4 separate regions of the Homo sapiens genome follow, and regions 1, 2 and 3 are each linked to region 4. Evidence: promoter capture Hi-C in 16 types of primary human blood cells and fetal thymus (Javierre and others, 2016). All regions are on one chromosome and are shown on one strand. Each heading gives the region's core, a stretch centred on a gene start or on the middle of the fragment in contact. The rest is flanking DNA. Distances are from core to core; before and after follow the strand shown. Region 1 overlaps CNNM2 (cyclin and CBS domain divalent metal cation transport mediator 2). Region 2 overlaps CNNM2 (cyclin and CBS domain divalent metal cation transport mediator 2). Region 3 overlaps CNNM2 (cyclin and CBS domain divalent metal cation transport mediator 2). Region 4 holds the start of INA (internexin neuronal intermediate filament protein alpha).

Region 1 (4,856 bases), core at 462-2,961, 210 kb before region 4:
GTCAGTGTTCTGTTGGCATAATTGATGTGATAAAAGGAAAAAAAAGTTCTCTCCTCTCCTATAAAAGCAGCTAGAATAAAAGGATTTGCTAGAAAAAATAGTCAATCTTCAAAAAACTCACAATTTCTATATTATAGAACAAGATGGCATGATAGTCAATTGCATTCTTTAAGGCTAATATGGGCTTAATCCTAAAATCTGATAATATAAGCCAATCTCACTTGTTAACATTGATGTAGAATTTCTAAATAAAATGGTAGCAGATAGCAACACACACCCAGGGTTACTGACTTGTGGCTGTGACTGAACTGGGTTTATTTTAGGAATGCAGTTCTAGTTTAAGAACAACAAAACCAAAATATGTCACATTAATTGGGAAAGTAGTAAAAAAAAATGATATTTATATCAGTAGATGTCAGACAGTTGACAAAGTTAAGCATCTATTACTGATTTTAGGAAACAGATGCCCCATCCCCTCAAATTTTTAACTGAATGGTAGACAAAAAAGAAAAAGTACAATAAATCATATCCTAAACTGGTAGCCTCCCATCTAAATCATTGTTTTACAAAGCTATCTATGCAAATATATTTATAGCAAATCTATTAACTATAAAGTAGTAGAAACAGTTCACGTCTAGCTAATCAAAGTGAGATGATAATATGAGGGATCACTATGTAGTAATGGAAGAAGTGGAAAGCATGTGCCCGGCCCATCCACACTCTTTTTTAGAGCATCTGACATGGATTCAAAAGGGACTTTTCCCTATAAACGGGGGTCGTCTTGTGGAGTATGGCAGGTGGCATCTTAAAATTTATACAGCCCTTGAAATACTTAGTATGCCTTCACCCTTCACCTGATAGGAAGGAGAATTTAAGCTTTTAATAGCAACCTCCTCATGGGTTTTTAAGTTGCACGGTCTGTGTACCCTAGTGCAGTAACGGATCCTTAATCTTGAGTCAAGCACAGATAACACACCCATTTTACTTGGACACCCAGCATTGAAACTTTTAAAATTATACTACTTAAGTATATGTCAGTATAAAATTGACTAGGTATAAGATTCCTTTGCTTAGAACTCTTATATATAACTATAAACCAAAACAAACTATCAAATGAATAAATTCTCAATGTGTAGATGATATTTGGCTGACCTGGAAGGGCCCCATCCCAGGGCTGTGGAGGGCTGCTGCCCTGCGAGCTCCCTTGCATTCAGCACACCTGGGCCTTTGTGTGTCCAAGATGTCTGCACCCTCCAGCCCTTTGCCAAATTTGAGCTACTTTGAATGTTTCTACAGTGTGTCGTGCTATTATTTGGCCTCCACTGGGTGTGACTGAATTACTTCCCTGTTAAATCCCACTCTGTTCCCTACTCATTAGCTCAGTGCTTCTCAGAATTTAATGTGCAGAGGATTCACCTGTGGGTCTTGTTGAACGGCAGATCCTTCAGTATGAAACGAATGCTTCAGTAGGTCTGGGGTGGAGTCTGAGATGCTGCGTTACCAGCAAGCTCCCAGTTGACAGTAGCAAGGCTTAGCTGTGATGCTCCAAGTAATACCACGTGGCACCAGAGTGGCCAAGGCGGGTGCTGGCACTGACATCTGGTGGTAGCACTTGATTGGAAAATGGTCAGTCAGATGGTCCAAAATGTGTCTAAATTAATTTTGACCATCAATATTTAGAAAAGTAAATTTAGCAAACTTGCTGAGTCTGGCCATTCCATTGCAGACTCCAGATTGAAAGCATTGCTAGAGAGTGTCGGGGCACCAGGTCTCCCCAGGCTTTGAGTGGGCATCTTTGGGTGCTGCAACTCCTCTCTCGGTTAATACAACCCAGTCTTTGTGCCCCTGGCATCTCATCACCTGCTTTCAGGAGTCAGGCCCCCCTGAATACTTTGTGATGGCGATTTAAAAAACAAGAAGGTGAGCGGGAGACCAGGTGGCTGCTCAGCATGTGGCGCATGGGGAAGTCCCGCCTTGAGCCGCATGCACTGATCCCGGGTTGGCACTGTTTGCACCAGTGTGGTTGTGCCCACGCTGGCTAGGGAAGTTTAGGATTCCACTTTGAAGCCAGACATGGCACGGGCTGTTGAGTAGGTTGTGGACACTTAGAAACTTTGAGAAGAGGTTATCTGATACCTTTGTCCAAAGAAGGGCAGGATGCTGTGAGAGATGCTTTACTCAGGAAGCCAACTTTGCTGGTCCAGTGAGTCCTTCTTCCAAGTTCGTCAGTTTATAAGCATGAAGCCCTACTTCCCTCTGGGAATTCTTGGAATTCATCATGTCCTGTCCTGGTTTTTTTGGTGATATGCTCGACTAGAGTAAACTTACAGATGTTTCAAAAGTAAAATCAATATGTAGCTTCCTTATATGGAAAAAGTTGTTATCTGAAAGGACACCTAATTAATCTCGAACCAGGTAAGCCATCTCCTCCTGTGCCCTAATTTTTGTATACTGGTAGGTTATTTGAAAATGAATGTTTTTTGGAACCACTAACACGTAAATGAATAAGATACGTTTACTGGATGTTTTTAAAACTTGCCTGCCAGAAAAGCTTAAATCCTATAGAGAGGGATGTAGTGGGGTGGGCAGGTTTGACAACTCTTGGAATTGTAGAGTCATAGAATGCTATTATAGAACTGAAAGAACTGCAGGTACCCTTTAATCTGTTGCAACTTTATATGAAGTAAAATTACTCTAATGTGATAACTCTTCCTAAGTGCTGAGATATTTTAACAAAGTTTTTGCCAGTTTGAGGCAGAATGAGAAAATAAAGACAGTTGCGATGAGCTTTTCATAAAGCTATGTGTATTCAGTTTGAAGACCTATTACTCTGAAATGACATATTTTCTAAATTTGAGGGGTTAAATGTCTGGTCTTTTATGAAATGATGGTAACAGTAGATAGCTGTTTTTTTTGTTTTGTTTTGTTTTGAGACAGTGCCTCACTATTTCGCCCAGGCTAGTCTTGAGCTCCTGACCTCAAGCAATCCTCCTGCCTCAGCCTCCCCAGTAACTGGGATTACAGGTGTGAGCTACTGTGCCTGGCAATAGTTGTGTTTTTTAAAATAAATACCTTTATTTTGCCCTGGCACGGTGGCTCATGCCTGTAATCCCAACACTTTGGGAGACTGAGGAGGGAGGATCAGCCAGGAGTTCAAGACCAGCCTGGGAAACATAGTGAGACCCCGTCTCTATAAAAAAATAGAAAAATTAGCTGGGCATGGTGGTGCACACCTGTAGTGCCAGCTACTCAGGAGGCTGAGTTACAAGTGTTGCTTGAGCTCAGGAGTTCAAGGCTGCAGGATTCTCACCACCGGTGCGGTGAGCCATGATTGCACCACTGCACTCCAGCCTGGGTGACAGAGTAAGACCCTGTCTGAAAAAATAAATTTTAAAACCATCTTTATGAAAAAAAAATTTGGCAACCCCGTATCTTTCCCTGTATCTGTCTCTGTAGAGGTGCGTCTTACTGGCCGTTAGGATGGAAATGTCTAGGAATCACTGAGCTTAGCATATCCACCCCGCAGCAGTGAATCTCAACTAGATGGAGTCCAGAGGGAAGATGGCAGATCCTCCCCTGCCTGGGATCCTGTCTGGAAGGACAGAGGAAGCATCAGCTGGAATGGCAGTGGTCTGGAGTTTTGAGTCTTGCAGCCGCCCTTGCTTAATCAGTTGACTCAGCTACACTGCCTTTGAGGGAGTCCCTTGAGAGGCCAGGGCACACAGTTTCCAGGGCTGGGGCCATTGTTCACAGACAGAGCCTTAAAGCAATGATTCCCAAAGTTTGTGGCTTGCTAGAATCACCCGGAAATCTTTTTAAATAAAATCCTGATGCCCAGATTCACCTATATTGTTAAATGAGAATGCCCGAGGGCCGGAGCCAGAGTCGGTAATCTGGGAATCTCTGCTTTGAGTGTGCAAGGCAGAGCTTCAGGCCTCAGAGTGGAACCACCGCACGCTTCCAAGAGACAGATGGTGTGAACCTATGGATTAAATAGAAAAAAAGATGTACAGTTTTCTGTTTTACAGTCTTGTTTTGGTTGTGCCTGCCCTACTAGTCCTGACAGTTTTATCTCCAAAGAATAGTGACCTGGCATCTGTCTGCAGGGACACAACACAAAAGGCCCTGTAACTTGTACAACAAATGCTCCAGATAACTGGAGACACCCAGGAACGGAAGTCACCATGAGGCTCCACTGCATTTGACTCTTCCTCCTGATTTCCTGCATGGAGGGTCAGGCTCAGAGCTGGTCACGCAGCCACTCTTGAGGTTACAAACTACAAAGCAGACATTTGCAGCCAGCACATACATGTCAGTTCAGGAAGAGATGGACACGGAATTGGGGAGACATGTACCGTGGCTACTCCTGTGTGTGTTGCTATCTCTGAACCTTGTTCCTCCCCTCCTCTTTGAAGGGACCCTACTTCAGGGACTTCCCCAGCACCCAGAGTCCTGAATTTTCAACAGCCTTCCCATGGCCCCACAGATGGGGATGTCCTGCTGCCTGTCCCTCTCCTGCCGGGGCCACTGTCCTCCCACTGATTCCTCTGTAGGGTAGGAAAGCCTCCTGCAGCCCCCAGCGGCCTGTGGTCAGTGATTGCTCCCGGCGGCCTTGAGCACCTTGAGGCCCTGACCGTCCTTGCCCCTGGAATTCTCCTGACCCCTGCTCTTCTGCCATGGTGCCGTGGTCTGGGCCTCCCTTTTCAGGCTCTGCCATGGTCCTGTTATGGTTTCAGTTTTCCCTGCTGCTCTCAGTCACGGGCTGAGCTTCGGTCCTTTTCCTGTCTCAGGTCCCCATCTCCAGCCCTGACCTCTCTCCAGACCTTCTTTCTCCCACTCGTGGTGTCCCTGTTCCT
Region 2 (5,086 bases), core at 544-3,043, 190 kb before region 4:
AGCTTTCCTCCCACCATCCTAGGCTGGGGACCTTCTTTGCTTCTCACACCACTGTGGTTGGCTCAGCTCAAGTAAGCACGTTCTCTCTGTATGCTAGAGCTACTGACATCATCTCTACTAGAATTGTTTTAAATATCTTTTGATGGGAAATACCAGGTTGAACTTCAAGCATCATGGAAACAAAGGTTCTAGCTGCAAGAGAGTAAAGTTCTAGGTGTTTGTATGCCAAGGTTTATATGTACACAGATCCAACACATACTGTAAGAAAGACTTGAGTACACAAGGTTTTCAGGTTTTAATGCCCATTGGGACCGTGAACAAATGAGAAGAATGGGAGCATTGTCTTGCCTCGCTTGGAAGGACGCCTTCCGGCATCTGATCCACATGGATTCACTTTTAGGATGCAGTTCTTTGGGGGCCAGATTTGGCTGCAGATTCACCCTGAAGAGAACTATCCAATGGGCCTGGTGGGGCTTGGGTGCCTGCCTTTTTTGTTGGAGGCTCAGACTTCTAGAGCAGAGCAAAGTTGGGAAGAATGAGGTCTTAGGATTCTCATTCCCCAGAGAGCCCCAGCCTCGCTTCTGATCATTACTCCCCAAGTCTGAATCTACTGTGAAGGTGAAGTTATCAATTTTTTCTTGTTTGAGTCCTTTAAACCCACAAATGTATATGCTTTATTTTATATTATTTATTATGTACATATGCCTGTTAGTACTTCGTCTGTGACTAGGACAAGGTCTGTCTTGAAGCTTCCTCATCCATGGATCCTAGGGTTCTGCTGTCCTTTAAGGCGGGTGAGAGGGTAGTGTTGTTTTTTATAAACAGGTTGCTGCTTTTATGTTGGCCCTAGCATCCCCAGCCCCTTTAGTTGGGCCCACCTGTATTCCTTATGACCAGTGTTTTGGATGAGGATGGAGGCAGGTCTCCTACCTTGTGGGCAGGGCCTCTCAAGTACCTCCATGAAATATTTCCAAGGTGGTTTCTTGGTGACAGGCTCTCTTCCCCTATGTAGGGTACAGTACAGCTGTGAGTCCACGGCCTCCCTCCTCCCAAGGCAGGTCACTTGCCTGGCCCCACAGTGATAATGGTTTCTTCCACTTACCTTAGATTGCATAATCCATCTTTCTGGATAATGGAAGCTGCCTGCCTATCTGGGCTCTTAATATGCCTTTTCTTGGTTTTGAGGCCCAGTGCCAACATTGCCTTGGCCCTCAAGTAAGACCCTGCTTTGTGTCTGACTTTGATCCTCCTCAGCCTTTATTCACTGTATCATAGTGTACAGGTCATGCATTTGAGCAGTGAAGTTTTCTGAACACAGTATTCAGAGCTGTGTACATAAACCTAAATAAGCACAAATGACATGTATAGGATTGAGCTGATTGTCTTAATGAATGCATTTTATAATTCAAATGATGTAGATGTACAGTCTCTCCTATTTATTTTGTACCAATTTATTTGTAAATTTTGTGATTGTTTTACAAGGTTTTTGTTTATTTCTATTCTATTTAGATAAATGATGTTCTGTTCACCCTGCTAGCAGATGTGTGTTCCCTCTTCCCTTTCATCTGTGCAACACCAACCATGCCATTGTATTCAGCTTGGCTGAACCAACTGCCCTACCCACTTGCCTGGCTTTGCTGGTGGGAAAGCTGGGACTGGATCTCAGCATGACAACATAGAAGAGCATCTTCTTTGGACAGTGTAAAGTCTTAAGAGAAGTGGGTACTAGTTCTGTGCCTCCAAGTCACAGCCTGGTACAGCCAATCCTAGGGGGAAGGTGTCCTTCTTTGCAAGGATTATAATCTGTTCTCCATCAGTTACTCTCTACATAAGAACATTCGGAGTATCCAGTCAAATTGCCCCAGACATTGGCTGCTCAGTCACTAATAACAACACACAGTGCCGCTGGGCTAAGCCGGCATTTCCTAGGTAAGACCAAAGGTCTCATTCAGGCCTCTCAATTGGCTCTTGAAAACAAGGATGGCTTTATAGGTCCTCCTCTGCTATGCTAAGCCTGGGAGGAAGGTCGGAGCAGGCATGGATAGTCACTTTCAAGTGGAAAACATCCGGCCTGAGTGTGGCGAGGCGTGTGCAGGTGGGTCTTCAGGATTCAGTGGATATCCTGCATTCCCCAGTAATCGGTGTGTATGATACACGTTCTTTTCCATCACTACTTTGTCTTCTGTTCCTTCTTACCCTCATCACTCACATGAGACCAGTCCCTGAAGAACTTACGGTGGAGCTTCAGGGACCCTCTGTGATCCATTCCTAAACCACATCTTTTTGGAATCCCTTTTCTCTCCACTTTTAGTCTCTATTTTACATTCCAAAGAGGATCGTGCTCTGAAAATTTAGCCTCTTGACTGGTCCATTTATAGTCTCCACTGAATTTATTTAACCGTGGCATTTGCAGTCTTTTACTTACACTTGTTCTGTGGATGGAGACATTTCAGGGAAGAACTGCTGACAGAATTGGCTTTCAGACACTGCCTGACCTAACTACCGCTCCCATCTCCCCAGGTATCGCCCAACTACCTGAAAGTAGAATGAGGTGTATCTTAGCCCAGTGAAATGCTGTCTTCGAACCCTGCTTGCTTTCATTAGAAGCAGGGCAGAAAGTGGCAGCAGAGCTAGGGAAAGAAATCATGGTAGCACATTCACTCCCAGCCTCCTGCCTTGGTTTGTTTTTCCTGTTTTACTCACTTGGTCTAGATGAGCCCTTAGCTCAAATCAGGAAATGCTCCAAGGAAAATGGAGGCAATTTTTCCTGCTGTCAAGATGAGATTTGCCTAAAACTCCCCCCTGCATCCTCAGAGTGCGCACACATCCGCTCATTTCTAAGCTTTATCGTGATGCACCCGGGGTTTCTATTTCACAAAAATTGTGCTCCCTAGAGCCGTTTTTCAACTCGGCACTTCTGAGGAAACAAATATTGATCAGAGGGTCTTGTAGAGAAAGTGGTTAAAAACTGACCTTTTTATAGCCTGGAGTTGATTTCTGGAAACTTATTTTATACTTTTTGAAGGTAATTTAAAAGAGATGATTCTTTATTAAAGCCAAAAAGTTGAATTCTATTAGGTGGATAATAAACTCTTTTGCTTTCTTTGTATGGTGGTTTTGTCATTTTCCCTCCAAGGGCCTCATATCTGTGCTCTTATTTTCAAGCAGTCCCAGGACAAAGGGATGGTTCTAGGGCCCTTTTCTCTGACTTTCTGCTGGCATGCCATCTCCCCTAGTGGATTACTGAGGACTGAGGATGCACGTTTCTAAGGGAGAATTAGTTGCCCGACTTCTGAAGTGCTTTTCCTGTCAGGGTATTAGTGACTGTGCAGTGTTCAAACAGGAGGCCAACACATGATAGGAAATTTTAGATGGGGCCAGTTTTCCTACTGCAGTTCTACTAAGTCATTGACTTGAGGTCAGTGGGTCCAAAAAGTGACTTGTTTAAAGATACCCACACACTCAAGTCAAAGATAACTCTGGTGAGAACACTCTCTCAAAGACTGGACACTGAGTAAACATTTTTCAGTGTGGGGAAGGTTTGCTTGGCAAATCTTCTTTCCAAGTATCTCAAGAACTTGTGAGACGTGGAAGGACTATTGCTGCCTTTCGTGGGAAAAATGTGTGCTCAGCTGCTTGGGCTCCAGTTTGTGTGGGAAGGTTTATCTCAGGCCTTGTCTACTCCCCTCGCCAGACATGGCTTTGGGAAGAGCTCCATGGGAGACCAGAACATCTGGGGACATAGTTGTACCTAGTTATTTTGTGTGAAGAAACAAAGGGACGAGATTCAAAATTCATCATTGTGTTTTAAATTTAAATTGGAAAACATAGATTCCTCATCCTTAAACAGAGTCAGCAAGTTTGAGATGAAATGTTTGTGTTCAATGGGGAGTACTTTTTTGTGTTAAAGCTCTACAGAGAAACTTCTGTATATATTTTATTTTTGAGATCACATACCTTTGTTGGAATGAATCAGACTGTTGTGGCCTTGGGATGAAGACATTGTGTGTGAGGACAGGGAAAAATGGTTGAGAAATCCAGGTTAAAGAATAGAAAAGCTTTTTACTCATTCTATAAATGAACATGCTGCCTGTTTAAAGGACTTGCTTTCTGCTGTTTCTAGATACCTAGCAGCGCGAGAACTGTGTGACGTGCTGCGTTCTTGTTACGGGAGGTGCGTGACGGGGCAGCGGGGGTTTCTGGAAGTCACCTGTTTCTGCTTTCTGGTTGCCTGTGCCTGTGGTCATCCCTGCTCCTTAGCAGTAGTGCATGTTTTTCTTCTATCTGCAGGGTTGCTCTGGTAGCTCCATGGTAGAGATTTCACTCTCAGGGCCTCCCAAAAGTTGTGTATCATTTGAAATTGTTCTATTTGAGGAAAAACTTTTAAGAAAAGCTGGATTCCCTGATCACCACTAAAGATCATCATGAGAAACATAAGTATTTGAGCCCTAAACTACTAAGCCCAGTGAGGAATTGGAGCGTTAACTGTATGGCAATAGCTAGATCATAGTTACCATTTTTCCCACCATCAAAGACAGATTAAATAGTTTCCATAACATGGAATGTGGGTAAGGTTCCTACCCTAATACAGACTTAAATATGTAGTTGTCTCAGGCTATTCGTGGTGAATAAGCAGAGTATTTATTTTAAAATGACCAGGCAGCCTTGGAAAAATTGCTGGGCTTTAAAGTTGTTGACAAAGTATTTCTTAAATAAATACATCTGATTTAGAAATACCTAAACATGGACAAAATACTTCTAAATCTGACATGCAACTGCATGTGGCTTTTTAAAGTGGTTTCTTAACAATGCTAATGTGACTTAAGGATTTGTAGTTCTATTAAAAACGACTTCTAAAAGTATCTTAGGGTAGCTTGAAGGGTTTGCGTTATTATTTTAGGTCTCAGCAGAGGTATGCTTATGGCAAGAGAAAAATCTTAGGTCTAAATAGAACCCTAAACTTTCTTGGCTGTGACCAACTTTTCTGAAGTACACCATCAGAGTTTTCACTGACTATCTATCTTTGCAGAGATGAATGAATGTACTGGGCAATTCCTCTGCCCAAGGAAACCCAGCAGGGCCTGGG
Region 3 (4,506 bases), core at 57-2,556, 250 kb before region 4:
TATTTTTATTTTTGAGACAGCGTCTCGCCCTGTCACCCAGGCTGGAGTGCAGTGGCGTGATCTCCGCTCGCGGCAACCTCCAACTCCCTGGTTCAAGCGATTCTCCTGCCTCAGCCTCCCAAGTAGCTGGGATTACAGGCATGTGCCACCATGCCCGGCTAATTTTTGTATTTTAGTAGAGGTGGGGTTTCACCGTGTTGGCCAGGATGGTCTTGATCTCCTGACCTTGTGATCCACCCACCTCGGCCTCCCAAATTGCTGGGATTACAGGCGTGAGCCACCACGCCCAGCCAAGTTGGCTCCATTCTAGAGATAAGCTTTCTTCTTTGGGATTAGCAATGATCTGTGGAGTGATACTTCAGCACCACACAAATATTATTTTCTCCATCAACCTCTCCCCCTAATAGTTTTAGCATCTGTTAATGTTCTTTGCCTGAATCAATACATTTCAACAGGCATTGGAAGATGGTGTTGCCATTCTTCTGAAGTAGGACCCAGGCATTTTCTTTGAGTTGGGCTTACTGATTCGTGTTTCATACAATAGTGCATGAATCACATCCGTAGTATATCTTCTCTAAGTTATCCAAATCTTCTCTAAATCTGAGTTTTCACTTCAAGTGGAACAAGCAATGCAAAGCATTTTCAAAGCAATACAAGTGCAGAATCTTCCTAGATCTGTTTTCTCTTACCCCCTCCTAATTCAACAGCAGGGATTTTTTTGTTTAACAGCCTGCTTTTACTGATTCTTTCTGAAAGATTCATCATATTTGCTGTGGGTTGAATGTGTCTCACAAAGTTCATGTGGCGAAACTTAATCTCCAATGCAAACACTGGGAGATGGGGGTCTAATAAGAGGTGATTGGGTCATCAGGTTCCTCGTGAATGGATTGGTGTCATTATGTAGTTAGGTTAGTTACTGTGAGAATGGGCTTGTTATAGGAGCAAGTTCAGTCCCCTCTTGCTCTCTTGCCCTTCTGCCATGGGATGACACAGCATGAAGGCCCTTGCCAGATGTGGGCCCCTCAATCTTGCACTTCCCAGCCTCCAAACTGTAAGAAATCTGTTCTTCATAAATTAACCTGTCTTGGGTATTGTGATGTAGCAGCACAAAATGGACTGAGACAGTGTCCGTAGAAACAACTTTTCTATTCTCTTAAGTTTTTATAATACTTAAATTACATAATTGCAGCATCAAGTACAAATGTCATAAATATTTTTGGAGGCTGGGAGTAGTGGCTCATGCCTGTAATCCCAGCACTTTGGGAGGCCAAGGCGGGTGGATCGCTTGAGCTCAGGAGTTTGAGACCAGTCTGGGAAACACGGCAAAACTGTGTCTCTACAAAAAATACAAAAATTTAGCTGGGCATGGTTGCACATACCTGTAGTCTCAGCTACTCAAGAGGCTGAGGTGAGAGAATTGCTGGAGCCCAGGAGGTCAAGGTTGCAGTGAGCTGTGATCGTGCCACTGCACTCTAGCCTTAGGGACAGAGTGAGACCTTGTCTTCAAAAAAAAAAAAAAAAAAAAAAAAGGTTTGGAAACAGAAATAACCAATTCTTAGTAAAATTTCTACTTAATCCAGGGGAGTTTAGAATGCAGAGTACTAGATAGCAGTCTATTAGACAAAAGCATTCAGTGTGCTGTGGGCCTCAGTCAGTGTGTTCTACAGGGAGAATGGAGTGTGTTCATTAGCACATTGTTACATGGAGGTCAGTTAAGAGAAGAGTCTAACATGTTGTAATTTTCCTTGCCTGTCTTCCTTGGTCGACTTCCAGTTCCTTGACAGTAAGGAAATCAGTCTTGTATGTGTTTGAGTTTAATCGCTGGTGCATGGTACAGTGCTTAGCATATAGTGAGTGCTCAAGAAAAATACTTGTTGAATGAATTCATGACTGGCCATATTGACCTCAAGTGAATTCTAATCATAAACATGGAAACCTTTGCAATATCTTTAAAAATGTCAAGGTTGGTATGGCCATTGCACATAATTTATTATTTCATTGGCTTTTCCCCTTCTCATTCCCTCAGTCTTTGAGTCTTTCTCTGCTCTGTGCCAACTTCCTTCAATTTATTGTGTATTACAAGCTACCTGTGTTTATTATCATTCCAGTTTCCTGACAAAGATGCAAAAAGAATGTGTAGCAGTTTGGCTGCAATGGCGCTCTGCCCAAAGAGAGATGAGATTCTTAGGAAAATACAAAGTAGTTCCTTAGTTCTCTATTCTAGAGCTTAACCAATCCCAGGAACTGAAGTCTTCTGTTTCTTCACAGAGGAAATATGACAAAGGCAGTGGCTGTACAAGCTTCCTTCATGGGCCGCCCTCCCCACTGCCTCATCCAGTAAGCGGGAGCAACTACTTCTAGAGGTGAGAGGGGAGGGAGGACAATCTCCATAACCCATTCGATGCACCCAGCTGCAAAATTTTGGTATTGAGAAACTGAGCAAACAATTTGTAGAGTTGCTATATTGAACTTTAAAGCAAAATAAGCCTACATAGGATTGAATGCTCAGGTGATACAAATGATGGTCTTTGATAGAAGCCTACAATCTATATTTTGAAAGAAGCTACTTATAGCTGTATAATTCCAATAATCCCAAGATCCTGTTTCTATAGATATTAAAAGGTATTATGCATGTACATTTGAGATGATTTTTAGCTTCCTAACCCATGAGAAAGTTCATCAGTAATATAATCATTATCATTTATTGAGCACTTACTATGTGCCAGGCACTATTTAAATTGTTTTTTCATTTGATTTTTCAATTTTTATAGTAAACATAGGGTATATCTCCATTTACAGACGGTCAAAGTGGGAGGCCATGAGAAGGTAAATGACTTGCTCTCAGTCACACAGGTAGTATGTAACAGAGTCAAAGCATCTACACCCATACTTGTCTAATTTTAAAGTTCTTAATCACTGATAGTATGCCTAGGGTCCTGTCACATATTTGAGCTCTTAAAATCTGTGCCTTTTTTGATGAGGGGTCAGTGACCGAGAGCAGCCTAGATCTGCTGAACATTGTATCAGGAACTGAGGTGATGTTCCATAAGGCATTTGTAGTGCGTACTCACAGAAAGCTTAAGACAGTTTGTCATTTTTACCAAGGACCAGGTCCCTCAAAAGGATGGTCTGTTTCTAAGGTTCTTTACGGAAGCAAATGAATGTTGAGTTCTTTTGGCCATTCATTCGCTCATTTATTCATCTAGTCATTCAGTAAACACTTATCTTTTTTTACTTGACAACTCATTGTATTTGAGTATCAGAGTCTCGGTTTTCAGGTTGAATTCATGTTTTGTGTTTATAAGAAGATAATGAAAATTCTTGAAGACATTCTCAAGCACAACAGAGGAAGGAGCACAGGGTTTGATTTCTACTTGTTTTTCAAGTGGGCTTCATCTGAGAACAAACTCTATTGTAACCTTTCTAGAATTTGGTGCCAATAAGAGTTAAAATAATAAAATCAGTACAATTAAATAGGAAATGAGTGTCTTTTATGTACAAGGCCTTAGATTAGGTAACAACAGTTGGTCATTCCTCTGGGAAATGGTTGCTAAAATTATAATCAACTGGCAGTCACTGATTGGCCTTGTTTACTTCATTGTGTCCCAGGAAAAAAAAGACAATCTCCTCTTATGACAAGATCTTGCAGAGATAATACCATTTCCGCCATAATCTTCATCCCCCTCCCATTTTCTTCTTTCTTTTCTTTTTCTTTTTCTTTTTTTTTTTTTCTTTTTTTTTTTTTTGAGACAGTCTCGCTGTGTCACTCAGGCTGGAGTGCAGTGATGTGATATCGGCTCACTGCAACCTCCGCACACCAGGTTCAATCGATTGTCATGTCTCAGTCTCCCAAGTAGCTGGCATTATAGGCGTGTGCCACCATGCCCACTAACTTTTGTATTTTTAGTAAAGACGAGGTTCCACCATGTTGGCCAGGCTGGTTTTGAACCCCTGACCTCAAATGATCCACCCGCCTCGGCCTCCCAAAATGCTGGGATTACAGGCATGAGCCACCGTGCCCGGCCCCCACTCCTATTTTCTTAAGATTAATTTGAGCTATTTAGTTAAGCTTTATTAAAAGTATTGGCCAGGCATGGTGGCTCACACCTGTAATCCCAGTACTTTAGGATGCTGAGGCAGGTGGATCACCTGGTCAGGAGTTCAAGACCAGCTTGGCCAACATGGCGAAACCCCATCTCTACTTAAAAAAAAAAAAAAAAAAATAGGCGGGCGTGGTGGCCAGCACCTGTAATCCCAGCTCCTCAGGAGGCTGAGGAGAATCACTTGAACCCAGGTGGCAGAGGTTGCAGTGAGCTGAGATGGTGCCACTGCACTCCAGCCTGGGTGACAGAGCAAAACTCCGTCTCAAAATAAATAAATAAATACATAAATAATCTACCAGACACTGTGCTAGTTTCTAAGGCTTTAGATGTGAAAGAGAACCCTTCCTTCAATAATCTCACAGAGGACTAAAAATTCAGAGGAGCCAGGCACGGTGGCTCACGC
Region 4 (4,709 bases), core at 1,348-3,847:
TTCGGGAGGCCAAAGCAGGTGGATCACGAGGTCAGGAGTTCAAGACCAGCCTGGCCAACATGGTGAAACCCCATCTCTACTAAAAATACAAAAATTAGCCAGGTGTGGTGGTGGGCACCTGTAATCCCAGCTACTCGGGAGCCTGAGGCAGAGAACTGCTTGAACCCAGGAGGCAAAGGTTGCAGTGAGCCGAGATTGTGCCACTGCATTCCGGCTTGGGCGACAGAGCGAGACTCCATCTCAAAAAAAAAAAAAAATACAAAAAATAGCCAGATGTTGTGGCAGACACCTACCCGCTGACCTGTGGTGAGCCAAGATCACGCTACTGCCCTCCAGCCTGGGCAAGAAGAGCGCAACTCCGTCTCTCTTTTTTTTTTTTTTTTTGATGGAGTCTCGCTCTGTCACCCAGGCTGGAGTGCAGTCGCATGATTTCGGCTCACTAAAACCTCCACCTCCCGAGTTCAAGCAATTCTCCTGCCTCAGCCTCCTGAGGAGCTGGGATTACAGGCCCGTGCCACCACACCCGGCTCATTTTTATATTTTTAATAGAGACAGGGTTTCACCATGTTGGTCAGGCTGGTCTCAAACTCCTCACCTCAAGTGATCCGCCCATCTCGGCCTCCCAAAGTGCTGGGATTACAGGTGTGAGCCACTGCACCCGGCCAACTCCGTCTCAGAAAAAAAAAAAAAAAAAAAAGAGTCTCACTGCACTAAGCAGAATTATGTAGTGAAGAGAGAATGTATGCTTGTCTTTGCTTGCTGGTGACCTTGTGCTGCACCCGCACCTCGGTGCCTTATCTATAAGATGGAGGTGAGGGCCACCTTGAAGCATGGTTCAGAGGTAAACCTATGCAAAAGTGCCAGCACAAGTACTGGCAGACAATCATTACTCAGCAGTGTTAGCAATCTTTTATTGTTCACCTTACCAGGTCTTTCTAAGCCCAAAGACCTCAGAATTGAGTCCCTCCAACTCAAGGCTTTGGTCTGTGATGAGGAACCAGAGGGGCAGGCTGTGGCAGGGCCTGACCATCTTCCATGACATCAAGCACAAAGCCAAGAGATATGCTCCAAAGTCCCATAAGATCCCTTTTCACCCTTCCTTTAGTGGCCTGTCCCAAGCATATTCCCCTTTCCCCATGAAGTAAAACTTATCCTAGAACTACGTCCTTGAAGATTCCAATATCAATAAAAGGCCCTCAGTCTGGAATTCTGGGATATAACTAAAAAGGTCTTCCTACTCCCTCTCCAAAGCCATATCCACATCCTGAATGATATTAGAAGCTTGCAAGTGGGTACATATTACAGACGCCACACTGACCCCTCCCAGCCTTCATCTTTTCAGATTCCATTCTTTGATTCTCACCCCCTGCCCCACCAACCCTACCATGTGGCAGAAGAGGCCGGCTCAGTCACCAGCACTCTCCCCCACTCCTGGAGTTTAATCTTTTTGCAGGGATCTCTTTTCTCCAAAAAGAGATCTGCACAGGGAGTGGCTCTCTGAAGCCAGTTGAGAACCTGCCCTGCTGGATTTACACAAACTGAAATCTCAAATGCCCACAGGGTCAGAGAGGTAAAGTAAATGAATTAAGAAGGGGGGCGTAATTCAGTGGAGAATGGCAGGGACTGTAGTGAACAGGAGAGCACACTTCTTATACAAATGGCAAGGGCAACTCACCTCTGCCACTGTGGGCATCCCAGCTCTTCCCATTTTCAGAAGAAGCCAGAAATCCAATTTCTTTACAGGTGAAATCTCCTGGTTTAAAAATGCTCCTTTCGAAATATTTTAAAATATAATGCTCTAAACACAAAAGTCTGCAGCCCCCTTTCCAGCAGCTTGTGGTCCTGGCCTGTGCCATGCTTTAGTGCCCTAACGATGAGCCCCAGCAATTCCCAGCGCCTCCTGCTTCTCCAAGTCTGGCCTCTTTTCCCCTCTGTACCGCCGCTTCTCCCCACTCTCCGCAGCTCGGGGTCACTTTCTTTACTGATCTCCCCTCTCTTCTGGGAGAGGCACTTGCTGAACATCTTTCCGCCCGGAGCCTCCCCAGGAGCTGCAGAGGGGCAGCTGGAGAGATGCTTTCTGACGTAGCATCTCCCACCTTTCTCCTTGGGGACCCTGAGGAAGGGGACAAGGGCTCGCTCTGCAGGTCCTCACTGTAACTGGAAAAACACGACCTCGCCCTCGGGAAGGCTTTCTGTGCGCCTCACCTCAGGATGAGGGTGGGTGTAGGGGACACCTCCCAGAAACCCCTAACCTCCCAGTCGGTTAAAGAAGAGGGGATAGGGTCAAGGGATGCGACAGAGCTGTGTGGTTTCCGGATGGGAAACCTCAGTCGTTTAGGCACCCCTCCGCTCGAGTCACTTCCGAAGCAGTCGATTCTTGGGGAGAAGCGCTGCGGAAAGGGGCGACTCCGATGCAGATGGCCCTGTCCCGGCGCCCCAGGTCGTCGCGCGCGCAGCTGCGGTAGTCACTGCGCCTCCCCGCCCCCACTCCTGGATGCCCCCCTTCCCTCTCCCGGCCAGACTCTGAGCAGGAGCTCCGCCCCCAGCGCGCCGCCCCAGCCCCGGCGCCTTAAAAGCCGGGCGCACCGCCCCGCCGCGCCCTGCCTGCCGCACCTCTCCTTTCTTCTGTAGCTCGCGTTGAAGCCGCACGTCCGGCCCCGATCCCGGCACCATGAGCTTCGGCTCGGAGCACTACCTGTGCTCCTCCTCCTCCTACCGCAAGGTGTTCGGGGATGGCTCTCGCCTGTCCGCCCGCCTCTCTGGGGCCGGCGGCGCGGGCGGCTTCCGCTCGCAGTCGCTGTCCCGCAGCAATGTGGCCTCCTCGGCCGCCTGCTCCTCGGCCTCGTCGCTCGGCCTCGGCCTGGCCTATCGCCGGCCGCCGGCGTCCGACGGGCTGGACCTGAGCCAGGCGGCGGCGCGCACCAACGAGTACAAGATCATCCGCACCAACGAGAAGGAGCAGCTGCAGGGCCTCAACGACCGCTTCGCCGTGTTCATCGAGAAGGTGCATCAGCTGGAGACGCAGAACCGCGCGTTGGAGGCCGAGCTGGCCGCGCTGCGACAGCGCCACGCTGAGCCGTCGCGCGTCGGCGAGCTCTTCCAGCGCGAGCTGCGCGACCTGCGCGCGCAGCTGGAGGAGGCCAGCTCGGCTCGCTCGCAGGCCCTGCTGGAGCGCGACGGGCTGGCGGAGGAGGTGCAGCGGCTGCGGGCGCGCTGCGAGGAGGAGAGCCGCGGACGCGAAGGCGCCGAGCGCGCCCTGAAGGCGCAGCAGCGCGACGTGGACGGCGCCACGCTGGCCCGCCTGGACCTGGAGAAGAAGGTGGAGTCGCTGCTGGACGAGCTGGCCTTCGTACGCCAGGTGCACGACGAGGAGGTAGCCGAGCTGCTGGCCACGCTGCAGGCGTCGTCGCAGGCCGCGGCCGAGGTGGACGTGACTGTGGCTAAACCAGACCTGACCTCGGCTCTGAGGGAGATCCGCGCCCAGTATGAGTCCCTGGCCGCTAAGAACCTGCAGTCCGCGGAAGAATGGTACAAGTCCAAGTTTGCCAACCTGAACGAGCAGGCGGCGCGCAGCACCGAGGCCATCCGGGCCAGCCGCGAGGAGATCCACGAGTATCGGCGCCAGCTGCAGGCGCGCACCATCGAGATCGAGGGCCTGCGCGGGGCCAACGAGTCCTTGGAGAGGCAGATCCTGGAGCTGGAGGAGCGGCACAGTGCCGAGGTAGCTGGCTACCAGGTAAGGGCCGGGGCTGGGCGTGGGGAGGGGTGCCCTGCCCTCTTCCGCGCGTACCCTCTTCCTCTGGTAAAACTGGGCCCCAGGACTTAAGGGGAGGGCAAAAGAGAGGAGAGAAGAGCCGCGGCTGGAGGCGCTGGTTAACAAAAAACCCTGGAGTCTTTAATGTTAATTTTAGGGAACGCCCCTCATTTATGTCCCTGCCCCAGCCCTTCAAACAAAGAAGCCCTTAAATTTATTTGAGGTTCGAAAACCCAACTCTGCCTGTCTGTCAGCAAGCGGGCCTACACACACCGGCGACCCGGAGAACAGTGCCCCACCCAAAGTAAGACTGAGCCCAACGGGGCAGGTTACGTGGGCGGTGCTGTCTCGGCTATCTGGCTTGTTTGGTTGACTTTGAAAAGCTTTCTGTGCGCCCTAGAAGTTATTTATGGAGTATGGTCTGCTTCAGGGCTGAAGGAAGAATGCGATCCTGAACTGGGAAGAGTCCTATCCCATTTTCTTGACTTTCGCGCTCCAAAAAGTAGAGATTGGGAGCCAACAAGCTGAGCGATGCTTGAGCTAGTAGTAACCACCCTGCTCTACCCACCTCCCCAACACACACACACACACGATTCCCTTGTCCACCAGCACACACACACACACACACACACACACACACGATTCCCTTGTCCACCAGCTGACATTTCCTCCTTAAGAAAGCGTTCGCCGGTTGGCAAAACGTGAAAGGTCGGGGCGCTGTCCACGGTGCTGATCTCGAGTTCTTCCCATCTCAGAAATTATGTCTCTCCTGTCTCGTGTCCCAGTTATGAATCTCTAGGCAATTAACTGCTTTGATTTTTTTTTTCCTGCAACACCAACACATCAGTCTTGGCTACCTGCAATCAAAGGTCACCTCATAGACAACATCAGTTTTGGCTTTCATGGATGGCTTAGCACTAAACAAAAAACACTTAATTTGCTCAGCAGCTGTGAG

Evidence for each region. Contacts are between HindIII fragments. The CHiCAGO score rates a contact against its expected background, and 5 or more counts as called.
Region 1: a fragment that was not itself captured here is called in contact with the fragment with the promoter of INA in region 4 in 1 of 17 cell types (endothelial precursors); the score reaches 6.3 in endothelial precursors.
Region 2: a fragment that was not itself captured here is called in contact with the fragment with the promoter of INA in region 4 in 2 of 17 cell types (erythroblasts and endothelial precursors); the score reaches 6.6 in erythroblasts.
Region 3: a contact is called between a fragment that was not itself captured here and the fragment with the promoter of INA in region 4, in 1 of 17 cell types (endothelial precursors). The highest score is 5.4, in endothelial precursors.

Annotation. Positions count from the first base shown.
Region 1 is chr10:103,061,482-103,066,337 of GRCh38, forward strand. All of the region lies in intron 4 of CNNM2 (cyclin and CBS domain divalent metal cation transport mediator 2), which reads left to right. Among named protein-coding and RNA genes, the nearest start is that of NT5C2, 130 kb to the right of the region's middle. The HindIII fragment of the contact is 1,675 bases long and covers 875-2,549 here.
Region 2 is chr10:103,081,858-103,086,943 of GRCh38, forward strand. CNNM2 (cyclin and CBS domain divalent metal cation transport mediator 2) reads left to right here. Exons shown (of 8, transcript NM_017649.5): 8 at 1-5,086. Among named protein-coding and RNA genes, the nearest start is that of NT5C2, 110 kb to the right of the region's middle. RefSeq lists an enhancer at 1,815-2,109. The HindIII fragment of the contact is 2,093 bases long and covers 748-2,840 here.
Region 3 is chr10:103,025,097-103,029,602 of GRCh38, forward strand. The region is part of intron 1 of CNNM2 (cyclin and CBS domain divalent metal cation transport mediator 2); the gene reads left to right. Among named protein-coding and RNA genes, the nearest start is that of CNNM2, 110 kb to the left of the region's middle. The HindIII fragment of the contact is 1,983 bases long and covers 316-2,298 here.
Region 4 is chr10:103,274,541-103,279,249 of GRCh38, forward strand. INA (internexin neuronal intermediate filament protein alpha) reads left to right here and starts at 2,598. Exons shown (of 3, transcript NM_032727.4): 1 at 2,598-3,736. The coding sequence starts at 2,672. RefSeq lists an enhancer at 3,013-3,617. The HindIII fragment of the contact is 2,856 bases long and covers 1,280-4,135 here.